Regions from separate parts of the Homo sapiens genome. Here region 1 is linked to region 2. The links are contacts of gene promoters, found by promoter capture Hi-C in human tissues and cell types (Jung and others, 2019). All regions are on one chromosome and are shown on one strand. The core of a region is centred on a gene start or on the middle of the fragment in contact, and the rest is flanking DNA. Distances in the headings are between cores, read along the strand shown.

Region 1 (7,462 bases), core at 1,370-3,869, 170 kb after region 2:
AAAAATCCTTAGACTAACTAAGTTCAACAGTTTACTTGACCAATTAAAATGATTCAAAACAAAGAGAAACAAAAAACAATTTGGGAATCAGGCAGCCCCCCAGAACCAAAACAGGTTCAGAGAACTTTCAGAGAACTCAGGCCAACACCATGATCAGGCAACATTTGTAGATAGAGAGAGAACAGAAGTGAGATACAGAGACAACTTAATTGGTTACAGCTTAATTGGTTGATTAGTTCTACCTAAACGTCTTACCTTATTCAACTCAGCTGACCTACTGTAGTTCATTAAGTTCAGCTGTGTGACTCACTGAACCTCAACCATTTGCAAGAATATATTCCTAAAGTAATTAGTTTCATTAAGCGTGATGGCTTCATATTGGTTTGGTCTGCTAGGCTCAGTAAAGGACACTAATTCAAATCAATGGCCTCCTATTTTAACACATAATAACTTTTTTAATGTTAAGATAACACAGGTTAAGAAAGCAAACTTGACTGTCCTGTTCTGTGACAAACAGCTGTTATTTGCAAAAAGGACTCCCTGGGTTGAGGGAGACCAGAGCTCCACTTAGCAAGGCCACTCAGGAAACAGATGGACCAACTTGAGTTCTTTTTCTGTGTGAGCTCATCTGGGGAATGAGACACTGTGGATCTTCTGAGTGGAAAAGTGGAGTCATTCAAGCCCTCCTGGCTTCTACAGAGGTGAGAGCTGAAGTTCTGAAAGGGGAACTGACATATTCCTCTACATTTTATGGCACTTCCAGACTAAAATATAACTTTCTGGCCTCCATTTCAGTGAACTTTGAACTTCCTCAAAACTCACACTCCCCTTTTCGTAATCCATAATTTTTATGTGAGGGATAAAATTTTCTGTTTTACAGCCTGATCCTGGCTACTTACAGAATGGCTGCACTTTAAACCCAAGGTGTTCTTTGCACCCTGTAGCCCCAGCCCATAAAAGAGACAAACACTGGCAGAGAGATGGTCCCAGGAGAGCAGCCGGGAGGAGGCACTGGAGTTCAGGGCTCCAGTCCCAGCTCTGCTCATCTGGCTCCTATGACGAGGGTTGTATCCAGTGTGTGGACGTCCCCTCTCCTCAGGCTGGAAACCCTCTGAGGTCAGTGCAGAGCCTCGGAATAGCGACATTGACATCTGTCTGGCACATAATGGCCTTCAAGGTGTCCTAAGTTTACAAAGCTCTTTCCCAGGCATCTCTCAGTTGTCTCCCATAACAAGCCTTGGGGCCCAGTAAAGCAGGCTGTATTAACCGCAGTTTACGGATGAGGGAACCAAGACTTAGAGACACAAAAGTGACAGGCCCCACTCCAAGTCACTCAACAAATTGGTCACAAAGTTCAGCACAGGACCATATTATCCCCTCTCCTTCAGCCAGAGCCTCATTTTTGCCTCTTTTATATCTTCTGTTTCCCAGGTAGATTTTGCTTGATAAAAAGGGGTCTGCTGCTTTAAAAGGTTTGAAAGCTCCAGAATAATGTTTCCAAATTCCCCGCGAATACTTCTGTTCAGTATTCAGGAATGAGAAATTGAAATTTCTGGGAATTCATGAGCATTCCTGAAATTATACATTAAATTTTTTTTTTTTTGGAGACAGGATCTTACTCTGTCACCCAGGCTGGAGTACAGTGGTACGATCATAGCTCACTGCAGCCTCGAACTCCTGAGCTCAAGTGACCCTCCTTCCTCAGCCTCCCGAGTAGCTGAGACTATAGGTACATGCCTATAGAGTGTGCCCCTAACATCTTCATGTTAGCCATTAGGGTGCTCCTGGCTATTTTGTTTTCTTCTTTTCTAGAGACAGAGTCTTACTATGTGACCAGGCTGGTTTTGAACTCCTGGCCTCAAGCTATCTTCCTGCTTCAGCCTTTCAAAGTGTTGGGATGACAGGTGTGAGTCACTGCGCCTGGCTCATATTTTCTATAACATTATATTCACATACTTTTAAATAATAATGAATGACCAGAATAATAAACAGTTAATAATTGTCAGTGACAAATTGATGCTAAAAGTTCCAGACTTTTTCCTTAAGGTTTATTATTATTATGAACCAATATGTTGTGACAAGATTATTTCAATAACATAAAAATTATCTCCACCTGATATAGGCACTGGATATAGAAAACATTAAAAAGGAGGGAACATTATTGCAAAATAAATGCCAGATAAAAATCACTTAAAAATGGAAAAATAATAGCACAAACATTTAATTTTAAAAGTTATTTTTAAAATGAACTTTTAAAACACAAAGCTTTAATTGCTCTATCTGATAGTTTTGATCTTTGTTTTGTGACAAATATTCTAGATGTAGGAAACTTTTTTGTTTTTTCATTTTTCATTGATGTTGGTTGAGTGTGCCCCTAACATCTTCAGGTTAGCCATTAGGGTACATGTTGTTTTATAGAAGCTCATTTCCTTTTTAAATGATGCTTTATTTTTATTTTTACTTTTTGGTCTGCTTACTCTGGTCTTGATTTTGCCATTGAGATCAATATTGCTCTTGCTAATTCAGATTTTAGAGCAATTTCTGATTTCCTTCTGGAGTGTTCTATAACAGCAATCACGTCTTCTTTTTGCATCTCTTCTGTTAAAGTATTTACAAAGAACTGTAGCCTATAATGAATATTCAACACGTGGAAATGCCAGCAATCATTACTGGGAAGTGTTCAAATAACTAACATTCAGACTCACTAACAAGGTTCATAGAATCACTTGTTGGAATTGCCAGTTTCAAGACTTATTTTGCTTTCAAAATTTGTTATTTTTTTCCGACACTGCTCATAGGACTTGTATAAGTATCCTATGTGTACAAACTTACCAATATTTGTTTTATTTGCAAAAATGACTTACCATTAGAAGCAGACCAGGTCACAAACACACACTTATAACCAGTGTGTGCTGGTAAACTGACTCTCCTGGAGAAAAAAAAAAAAACCCTTATATGTAGGGTTTGCCAAATTCTGAGGGGAGGCATAAATGTTCCCACAATGGTCAATGCCCAGCTACCGAGGGGATGTCACTGAGAGCTGGGAAGAGCAGCATACAACTGGCTCTTCTTGAGCCAGCGCTAGCCCACCACCACCTCTACCCTGGCAACAGCAGTCGGAAGACTGATTAGATGATGGCCTTTTCTCTCCTCTACTCCCCAGTTCCATTCAGAACTTAACTTTCCTATGGGTGCCTCAGTATTTTCTACTCTCGCTTTTGATTTGGTGTCAGTGGATTCCTTTGAACTAGTCACATCTAGTTCAACATGTTGATTGCTAAGCTTTAATTCTCACACAAAAACACTCTTACCAGGTTCCTAGATGTCTTAACTTCTTTTTCTCAGGAATTGGCATTTGGAAAAACAGTATTTCCGAGAAATGCTGGGAAGGAATTCCTGCATAAAAACACAAATCTGGCCGGGCACGGTGGCTCGTGCCTGTATTCCCAGCACTTTGGGAGGCTGAGGCAGGTGGATCATGAGGTCAAGAGATCAAGACCATCCTGGCCAGCATGGTGAAACCCCATCTGTACTAAAAATATAAAAATTAGCTGGGCGTGGTGGTGCGCGCCTGTAGTCCCAGCTACTCGGGAGGCTGAGGCAGGAGAATCACTTGAACCCGGGAGATGGAGGTTGCAGTGAGCCGAGATTGTGCCACTGCACTCCAGCCTGGGCAACAGAGGGAGACTCCATCTCAAACAAAGCAAAACAAAACACAACACAAATCCAGGAAACCCAAGTAAAACCTATTTGCTTGACTGATCGTGATCCTACTGGATACATTCTCCTGGGTCCCAATTTTGGCCACCGCTCATTTTCATTGATCTCATTTTAAGGGGTTTGAGGTATGGAGTCCTTAGGATTTGGTGTTAAGTTTGGTGATTTTTCAGAGAGGCCGCACCAGAGCTGCATCGGTGATCATTTGACTTTATGTCTGACCCTGTGCACAGGGGTCTACTTGTCTCCTAACCTCAGTTTTCCTCTTTTTCCTTATTAGAAAAACAACAATAACATCAACACAGTCCCTCTTGGAACTAGGAATGGCCAGTAGAAGTGGTGTGTGACTTCTGGGAAATGTCCTTAAATAGAGGCGGAATACTCTTCTTTGTTTTTTCTCCTTTATCTGGCCAGAATGTAGATATAATGGCTGGAGCTACAGAAGTCAGATTGGACCAGAGTGGCCTTGGGAGTAGAAGCCCCATTTGGGGGAACAATAAGATAAAAGGGGCCTGGGTTCCTGATACTGTGGGAGCCCATATCAGTCCTATACTGCCTTCTTCCAGGCTTTTATACCAAAGCAAAACAGTCTTATTTAAACCACTATTGATATGTGGTTTTCTATCACTCATAACTGAAACAAATTAAACAGCACACCAGTGCATTGTATTCTGTTACATAGTTTATGGGAGGCCATTGTTTTGGACTAGCCTCCTACACTGGCCCTAGCAGAGCAGATCAAACCAGAGCAGAGTCACCTGTGCTAACTGCCAAGTCATCAAACCGGACTTTGAAATGAGGCAGTTTTCCAAAAACGCAGGAGCTTCCAGTCACCCTGAATCAGCACAATAAAAAGTGCCCTCTGCTTTAACCCTATAAGGAAAGCAACTTTGAAATGACCAATCTGCTTTTTGTTCCCTGTTTCTGCTTTCTTCAGCCCTCTTTTATCCATAAAGCCAAACTTCTCTGCCCACTTCACTGGAATACTCATTCTATTTCGTAGAATGAGGTGTTGCCTGATTCTAGAATCACAAATAAAAGCCAATTTGATCATTACAAATAATTTGTTGTAATTTTGCCTTTGGGAAGTTCCTAGTGAAAGCAAAAGCTACTAGCAAGAATCCTTGAAAGGTTTGTAATGGAGGTGAAAATGAAAGACTGTAGCATTACCCAGTGACTCAGAGAGTGTGGGGGAGGCAGCTGCATCTAGTGATAATGGATGATACATTTGGAATAGAAGAGGCTGTGGTTTCATGCATGCCTGTCTTCCCATCTGCCAAGAAGGCTGATGAATAAGCTTTTATACTCCTCTAAGTTGGTAAAAGAAGTTTTCAGATTTTTAATACTCAAAGGTCTTTTCACAAATGACTATGACCTTTTCTTTTCTTTTCGAGACAGGGTTTCACTCCCGTCGCCCAGGCTGGAATGCAGTGGTGAAATCTCGGCTCACTGCAACCTCTGCCTCCTGGGCTCAAATGATCCTCTCGCCTCAGCCTCCTGAGTAGCTGGGACTACAGGCATGCAGCACTGCGCCCAGCTAAGTTTTGTATTTTTTCTAGAGACGGAATTTTGCCGTGTTGCCTAGGCTGCTCTGGAACTCCTGAGCTCAAGTGATCCACCTGCCTTGGCCTCCTGAAGTGCTGGGATTACAGGTCGGAGCCACTGCGCCTGGCCTCTATGCCTGTGGTCTTTAGTTTGTAGGAACCAGACCACTCAAAGGCTGGAACGTACCTTATTGCTCTGCCAGTGAATGGTTTAGGAACTGGCTGAAGGAGCTGGGGATTCAGTCTAGGAAGAACTTACAGGAGTTGGGATTGGGTTTGAGAGCTGCTTTCACACATCTAAGTAAAAAAGATTTAGCCTTCCTCACAGAGGGCTCTAGGCCAAAACCAGAACCCAAAGGTGGAGGCTGCCAACTTTACCCTAAATTAAAGAGAAACCTCCTACCCATCAGAACTGGATGGAGGTAGCTTTTTGATAGCAACTCTCCACTGCTGGGAATATTTAATCAAAGGATGCAGAAGGAGTCATTAACTGAGCAGCAGTTCCCATATACCAGCCTATGTATTGGTACCTACCTGTCTATAACATTTTCCAGGTCTCAGCCAGGCACGGTGGCTCATGCTTGTAATCCCAGCACTTTGGGAGGCTGAGGTGGAAGGATCTCTTGAGCCCGGGAGTTACCAGCCCGGGCGACACAGGGAGACCCTGTCTCTACAAATAATTTAAAAATTAGCCAGGCATGATGGTGCACACGTGTGTGGTCCCAGCTACTTGGAAGGCTGAGGAGGAGAATCAATTGAGCCCAGGAGGTCGAGGCTGCAGTGAGCTGTGATTGTGCTACTGCACTCCAGCCTGGGTAACAAAGCAAGACCCTGTCTCAAAAAAAAAAAAAAAAAAAAAAAGAGAGAGAGAGAGAAAAAAAGGCAATGTAGTACATTTTAAAAATAAAACTAAATATTTGCAATTTGAAGTACATTCTCTTTATTCCAAGATTATGTTCTTTCTATTTCAGGAGGTGTTATAATGTCTTTTTTTAGTAGTAGGTGGTATTAGCTATTGTTGTTTAACACCCTAATTAGACAACATAAAATCTTGGCAATCCTATATAATTCCATTAAAATTTACACTGGCTATAAGATCTAGAAGTCTGGTAATATGGATGAGATGACACCTGGTTGTCTGAATTGACCTTCCAAGGATTAGTAGTTCATTCGAGTGTCTACTAGATGCCATTTTTGTGTATTTACAGCAACTAGATAATTTCATGGTTCAAATCAGAGAAACCAGTAATGTGATCCACGTGCTTATGGTAACTTAAACTTTATTGACTATTCATTTTTGACACATATAGCTACTTTTTGATAGACATGAATTTTCTATTTGCATTTAAAAACAAAACTAATTTTCAAAGTTCTATTCTCAAAATGGCAATGATGACCTTTCTAAATGCTCTCTTTAAATAATCCTCCAATATTCTCAGAAATTTAGTGTACCTACAGCAAACTATTTCTCTTAGTAAAAGCCTTCTGTGAGCAACTTAACTGTCTGATGTCTTTATCCGTGTGAGCAGGGACTGGGTCCTGTCCTTTTTCTTTTTTTTTTTTGTTTGAGATGGAGTCTCCCTCTGTTGCCAAGCTGGAGTGCAGTGGCATGATTTTGGCTCACTGCAACCTCCACCTCCAGGGTTCAAGTGATTCTCCTGCCTCAGCCTCCCAAAGTAGCTGGGACTACAAGTATGCGCCACCACGCCTGGCTAATTTTTGTATTTTTAGTAGAGACAGGGTTTCACCATGTTGGCCAGGATGGTCTCGATCTCTTGACCTCATGATCCTCCTGCCTCGGCCTCCCAAAGTGCTGAATTACAGGTGTGAGCCACCACGCCTGGCCTGGTCCTGTCCATTTTTACAGAGCAGAGAGCATCTAGCATGCCACCACATTAATGTAATGATAATAATTTCCATTTGTCTAGAGACTTATGCTTTACAAGGCCCTTATAGTTTACTTCCCCTTAATGGTAGTTCAAGTAGCAGAGAATGACCTTTTCATTGTCCTTCTCTGTGATAAGCCAAAGTGAATGTAATGTACATTCTTCATAGTGAAGGCTTTCTACCTCATTCATTTATTCACAAAATATTTATTGAGCATGATTATGTGTTAAGCACTGAACTGTGCTCTGTGCTGCTGGGCACTGTGTGTTAGGTACAAACACGGCAGATGGAGCCCCTTCCCCCATGAAATGAAC
Region 2 (6,856 bases), core at 2,364-4,863:
TTCAAAAAATCCCAACATTTTCCTGGGCTTGGTACAGCCCTATATCCAAGAGGCAAATGATTGAGGCTGTTTTCAATAGGCAAACGATTCTGTTTTCAAGGCTCTGACATCTGTCCCAGCCTATCTTCTAATCTTATTTCCTACAAATTCTCATTCCAGATGGGTCCTCACTAAGTAGCCCCTGCCCTGCCAGACTCTTTCCCATTTCCACTCTCCTGCCTACTGCCACATTATGCCTACTGTTCAGTCACACCACTTCTAACCAAATAATTGGGTAAGTAACCCCTAAGTCCCAGTTTCCTCATCTACAAAATGGGGATACCACCTGCTCTAGCTATCTAATGAAATGGTTGAAAGATCAAATGACATAATAGATAAGAAAGCCATAAAGTACAGGTATGATTATTACTCATATATACAAACTGTTATCTCAATTCCTAATCAGACATTGCCTTGTTATTTCAATGTTCCTCATGTGAGGCTGACATACTTTTAAGTTCCTTGGGGAAAGGGACAATGACAAAGACTAGCTGAATATTACCCTCAGGTCCAAGCACAGGGTAGGACATATGGTCTGCAGTCAATGCATATTTGCCAATTTTACAGATGAATGAACATACAAATGATGGGGCACAAGAGAGATAACAGACTGGAGCAGAGGAGAAGAAATGTGATTAATGAATAGGGACAGCGGCCAGGCACGGTGGCTCACACCTGTAATCCCAGCACTTTGAGAGGCCGAGGTGGGCGGATCACGTGAGGTCAGGAGTTCAAGACCAGCCTGGCCAATGTGGTGAAACCCCGTCTCTACTAAAAATACAAAAACATTAGCCAGCTGTGGTGGCAGGCACCTGCAATCCCAGCTACTCAGGAGGCTGAGGCAGGAGAATCGCTTGAACCCAGGAGACGGAGGTTGCACTGAGCTGAGATTGCACCATTGTACTCCAGCCTGGGTGACAAGAGCAAGACTGTCTCAAAAAAAAAATAATAATAAAATAAAAAGGGACAGCACATTCTAGGGGTGGAAAGAAGAGGGAAGACAAAGGATGGGATGACAGGAAGGCAGAGAATCCTCTCTGCCAGCTTAGAGAAAACCGGACTTTGAAACTAGAGACCAGAAAGGACTGGTAGAGGGAGGGTGTGGCCGAGGATTAGGGCAACCAGGGAGAGTAACTGCAATCTATGAGGACAGACAGAACAAAGGACTATCTGGCATGGAACAAGCACTCAATAAATATTTATTGAATGAGTGGACTCTGGCTGGAAGGGAGAACAATTGAAATTGAGTTCTTACGAAGGTAAGACCCAGAGAATTCTGTCTTGCTAGAGCTCCTGGTCAGAGTGCCCACAGTTCAGCTCCATCTTAGGAGCTCTCTTACTCCCTTAATATGGTAGCTGGCCATTCCTGACCTATTTGGCCTTCTCCACAATTTCAACCTCAACTCAAGAGTTATCACTTAGAATTCTTGTCTCACCTGTGCTTTCTCCTCATAGGAACTCATCCTATTCCAAAAGCCTTGTATCAGTACCCCCCACTCTATCCTGGAATGGGGAGCCAGGGTCCAGGGGGTTGAGCACAGCTTCAGGCCTCTATGACTCAGTTCATATTTAAGGGCTAAGAGGCTAGGATGCCCATCTTTTCTTGATCTCATTGTTCCTACCACATGCAACTCAGTGTACTTCTCTATGTACACTAGATCCTATTTTGATGCAAAAACTTTTGGGGTCAAACTTGGACTGAATTGATTCCAGAAGCAGCCTGGAGGGATGATTCTTCTCTGCTACAGGCTACCCACAGGCACCAACAAAGCCAGATGTGCAGGCAGCATCAGGCCCTTCCCACTCCCCAGGGCTAGGGTTAGATAACTGATCTCCCCATCACAGCCCCACAGCACTGACTGGGGAAATGAAGGGTCTCCTACTCTAGAAACTGTAAGGGCAGGGTTTCCCAAGCTTTATGCCTCCCTCCACAGTTCTGTGTGTATTGTGTAGACTGAGTCAGGATGACCTCAGGGTGATGCTTTCTGTCCTCACATCCACCTGTTCCTGTTAATGGGTCTGGCTCCTCATCACTAGTCTTTGAACTCAGTGGGGATCTAGATGGGTTCTACATCTATGGCAGTGCCTCTCTGATAAATGACTTAATATCAAGAGCTCTCTATCCCAGAACAGAATGACAGCACCTTCTCATCACTTCAGAGGTGAGGGCAGGGAGGCTCTTCTTACCTACTCCCTGGAGCTAAAGCTTGAAGAAAGAAGCAGTAGTGTTGGGACTCTAACAGTGTGTCTAATGAGGTACAGAGAATGCCCCAGCTGCTTGTGGGAAATAAGGGGTTGAGACCCCCCCACCCCCAAATAAAACAACATTGTGTTAGTATCACAGCAGCCAGATTATCCTTTCCTACCTTGCCACAAAGTATAGCTAATCCCAAAGGGAAGTCATTGGAAACCAGTATGTGAGAAGAGCCTGAATGGGAAAGGCTGATTGCATGACCAAATGTTCCTACCCTTTCCTTCTGAAAAGACAAAACACTGGGAGGGAAGGGTGTTGCAAAGAGATGTGACCTGGTCTCACGGTCCAAAACCACAGGCCTAAAATATGCCAGGGATAGGGACCGCTTCACTCAGACAAGAAGCCCAACTGCTTTCTTGCCCTTTCCCACCTCTGCTAGAAGTTTTGAGCTGGAACAAAGTGAAGCCAAAGGCATTCTAGGCAATGGGGTCTACTCACCTCAAGCCCATGCCTATATGCTTTATCATGTTGCTTAGGGAGACGTTGTTAGCTTGAAAGGGTTTCCTCTTCTCTGTAAACTCATGAGCCAGACAGATGCGCCAGCCAAAGGGAGGCACCTGGTAGCCCATAGCTTTACCCTCATAGGAAACCATCAGCTGCCCAGAGTCCTCCGGATTGCAGCAGTCCGTCTCTTTTGGGGGTCGGCTGTCTTCGGGACTCTTACAGTCTGTAACCTGCACATCCTTGGTGCCGCCAGTCTCTTCAGGGCAATAAACTTGTGGATCCTCTTTGGCACAGCTTATCTGCTCCGAGGCTGGGACGCCGGTTCCCATGTTCCCTGGATCCTGGGTCCCCATGACCTCGATGGCGCCAAGTCCCGAGCCCTCGGATACTAAGTATCTCGCCAGCCTATTCCAGATGCGGGCGCCGGTCGTTGTTAGGTATCGTCCCGGAGGGCCGGGCGTTGGGGAAAGCTTAAATGAGCTGGTGTTTCAGTGGAGCCGGGGAGCTCTTGCTTCAGTGGGGGCGGCGACAGCAAAGAAGCCGCCTTGGGCTCTCCTTCGGTTGTCTCTGTAGGTCCTGGACGGGAAGGGTCGGGCCTCGTCGTCATTGAGCCGACGATTAGCTCGCCCGGCCAAAGGGCGACTGGGCCCGCAGAGAGGGGAGGAGCCGCGGGGCCAGCCCACCAGGCACCGCCCCGGGACGGGCCCGCAAGGCACCGCCCCCGGGACCTCGGCCCGGCCCCTGGGCCACGGCACCGGGTCCCCCAGGATTGGGCGCCAGGTCCCGCCGGCCGGCTCCGGGGCAGCGCCCGCGCCCAGGTGCCAGCCCGTGGGAAGGTGACCCTGGGCGCCGGGATGACCCGAGCCCTTTCCGGTCTGGCCTGCCGGGCGCTTCCGGCCGGAAGGGACTCCGCGGAGGGTGGGGGACCGAAGGGAAGTCCCGCCTCTACCGCCCAGCGGACGCCGCCGCCGCCGCCGCCGCCGCGTACCTAGCCAGGTCCCTGAGGGGCGGGCAGATGAGGCCTAGGGGTGCCGATCCCTAGTGTCGACTATGCGAGGTGACTAGCGGCGGTGATCTTGGGCTGGGACGTGGAACTTTGAGGAAAGGGGGAGCGGAGGCCAGTTTGGGAACTCCGCGGGGGTGCCCAGGGAGAAGAACCCGTCGCACAGGGGCTGGGGTCTAGGGCCCAGAGCGATGTCCTCCCCCTGGGCAGTACTGAGTCTTCAGTCGCCTCCCTCCCACCCGCCTACCCCTCCTATATCCAGGAGCTCCCTCGGGCACCACGGTGCTGACCACCCCTGTCCTCAGCCCTCAGCCCTAGGTGCTCACCGCAACGCCCCTCCCTGTCAAGGTGCTGACCTCCGCCCCGCCTTGTTTCCTTCTAGATCTGATTCCGGAGCTGCCATGATTGAAGTGGTAGCAGAGCTCAGCCGGGGTCCTGTATTTTTGGCTGGGGAGGCGCTGGAGTGTGTAGTGACCGTCACCAACCCCCTTCCGCCCACGGCCACTTCTGCATCCAGGTGGGGATGCTGGCACTGAAGGTGGTGGCCCTTCTGGGAAGAAGCCAGATTATCTCTGGGGCTGAGGCAGAGCTCAGGTTGTCCTGTAGCGACACCACCTCCTCTTGCTCACTGTGCTGTCATTGTAGGAGAGGGCTCTTTAACAGAAGATGTGGATGACATAGCTGTACGCTTTCCTTCCCCTCCCCCGTTCCCCTTTTTACGCACAGTCTGCTACTCTTTATTTAATGGTTTCTCTTTGGGATTGTGGATTTCCTGATCACTAGGACAGCCATCTAACCTTGTTGGTTAAGATGGTGTGATAGGGAGCTTGGGAAAGCATTTGTGAGGTCAGGAACTACCTCTGATGCCTCCTTTTCCTTTTCCCACAGTGAGGCCCTGGCCTGGGCCAGTGCCCAAATCCACTGCCAGTTCCATGCCAGTGAGAGTCGAGTAGCACTGCCTCCTCCTGACTCTAGTCAGCCAGATGTCCAGCCCGACAGCCAGACTGTCTTTCTGCCACACCGAGGTTAGAGAGGGGCATTTGCCTGGGAGAGGGGGGGTGCGGAGGGTGTGTGTGGAGGCATTGTCACCCATGGGTGAAGTTGTTAATTGTTCTTGTTCTTATAGTCCCTGTCATGCTGGGGATGTTGGGGAGCATGACTATTGCTTTAGGGGTAGAAGACTATTCCCATTTCACAGCAGGGACGGAGGGCCTGGCAGCCTTTCACTATCTCCACTTGCCGTGCTAGTCTTGTTCAGTACTGGACAATGGGTCATTAAATTAGTCATTTTTACCTTTTTCAGGTGAGAGGGGCCAGTGTATCCTTTCTACTCCACCGAAAATTCTATTCTGTGACCTGAGGCTTGATCCTGGAGAGTCCAAATCATGTGAGTGATTGTCCCCATCCCTGAATTGCCTTCTAAGTCTCCTGGAGGGAGGACTCCTCTGGTGCCTCTGGCTGTCCTGACAACTACTTCCCAACCAGACTCCTACAGTGAAGTGCTGCCCATAGAGGGACCACCCTCCTTTCGGGGTCAGTCAGTCAAGTACGTCTACAAACTGACCATTGGCTGCCAGCGTGTCAACTCCCCTATCACTTTACTCAGAGTCCCTCTGAGGGTTCTTGTGCTGACTGGTAAGCAAGGGCTCCTGGAGGGAAGGGCTGGGGAAGGGCGATGCCAAAGCAGAAATTGTCTTAGAGGGCTTGCAAGAGGGACTGCAGGGAAACTTCCTGGTCTCAGTGACAGTGCTAGGGAGTTGGGAAGGGAGGGAGGGTTCTGGAGATAGAGATGTAAACCTCAGCCCTGGCACCCCTTACCTTTAGCCATCTCATGTTAGAATCTAAAACCCTAACCTCTACTCTCATCTCCGTTCCCTCTCAGCATTACCTCTCCACTCATTCTTTCTCTAGGCCTTCAGGATGTCCGGTTTCCCCAGGATGAGGCTGTAGCCCCATCCAGTCCATTCTTGGAGGAGGATGAAGGTGGGAAGAAAGATTCATGGCTAGCTGAGCTGGCTGGGGAACGCCTAATGGCTGCCACATCCTGCCGCAGCCTCCGTGAGAATTCTTTCAGAATTGTCCTACCCCATCCTTCCCCTCATTGTTTTCCCATCTCAGAGACAGTCTCCTAACCACCACACACTTCTGTGGATCCACTGATACCTGACACCTCCAATTTTAAAGAAAAGCCCCATCTTTTGGCCTGTGGTGCCCAGTCCTAGACGTTATCCAGTATGTAGACTCCAGGCTTATAGTGTCCTATTCTCCCCAGATCTATACAATATCAGTGATGGCCGAGGGAAAGTTGGGACGTTTGGCATCTTCAAATCTGTGTACAGACTTGGCGAGGACGTGGTGGGGACCTTAAACTTAGGGGAAGGAACCGTAGCTTGTTTGCAGGTAAGAAGGGAGCAGAGCTTCTTACCTGCTGGGGTGCTGGGGTTGAAGGGCTAGGGTGGAAGGCCTGTATAAAGAGGGGTGGCATGTAGAAGGGGATAGTGGGGTCATCCAGGGTCCCTTTGTAAAACAGCTTGAGGTTGGGCTGTCCTCTCACCTACAGACAGCACTTCCTGTTAGCACACACCTGTCTCTTGCTCCCAGTTTTCAGTCAGCTTACAGACCGAGGAGCGTGTACAGCCTGAGTACCAGCGGCGACGTGGGGCAGGGGGTGTCCCCTCTGTGTCACATGTGACTCACGCCCGGCACCAGGAATCCTGCCTACATACAACTAGAACCAGCTTCTCCCTCCCAATCCCTCTCAGCTCCACCCCAGGCTTCTGTACAGCCATTGGTGAGACCCTCACTGTTACTGGAGAAGGGAGAGGGGGACAGTAAAATGCTGTGCTAAGGGAGGGTGTAATGGATCCTGATTCCTTATACACACTCCCAGACATACCCACGTCTAGCCTCTGACCCGGAACAGTTTCTCAGACCTTCAACCTCTTCCTGTTTCTTAGATGCACTGACCCCTAAACTCCTAACAGCTTGATAGAACTCCTTCCCCACACCTACCTACTAGGACCCTGTGATACACTGATTTTTGATTACTTCATGCTACCTAGACTTGACTGCCTCACTCTTAGGTTATTAGGTACTTAATACTGCTATCTTCAGCT

What was found. The method cuts DNA at HindIII sites, captures the fragments that hold promoters and counts their contacts. A contact is called where the count stands out against the background at its distance.
Region 1: a fragment that was not itself captured here is called in contact with the fragment with the promoter of GBA2 in region 2 in 1 of the 25 tissues and cell types used here (adrenal gland).

The regions. Positions count from the first base shown.
Region 1 is chr9:35,919,512-35,926,973 of GRCh38, forward strand. No RefSeq gene overlaps it. Among named protein-coding and RNA genes, the nearest start is that of SPAAR, 14 kb to the left of the region's middle. RefSeq lists an enhancer at 3,760-4,959. The HindIII fragment of the contact is 3,057 bases long and covers 1,092-4,148 here.
Region 2 is chr9:35,745,615-35,752,470 of GRCh38, forward strand. GBA2 (glucosylceramidase beta 2) reads right to left here and starts at 3,614. Exons shown (of 17, transcript NM_020944.3): 1 at 2,732-3,614. The coding sequence starts at 3,090. It overlaps RGP1 (RGP1 partner of RAB6A GEF complex), which reads left to right and starts at 3,673. Exons shown (of 9, transcript NM_001080496.3): 1 at 3,673-3,794; 2 at 4,123-4,257; 3 at 4,629-4,765; 4 at 5,044-5,127; 5 at 5,226-5,375; 6 at 5,652-5,798; 7 at 6,013-6,140; 8 at 6,342-6,531. The coding sequence starts at 4,142. RefSeq lists silencers at 3,313-3,712, 3,833-3,882, 3,913-3,962. The HindIII fragment of the contact is 11,811 bases long and covers 2,727-6,856 here.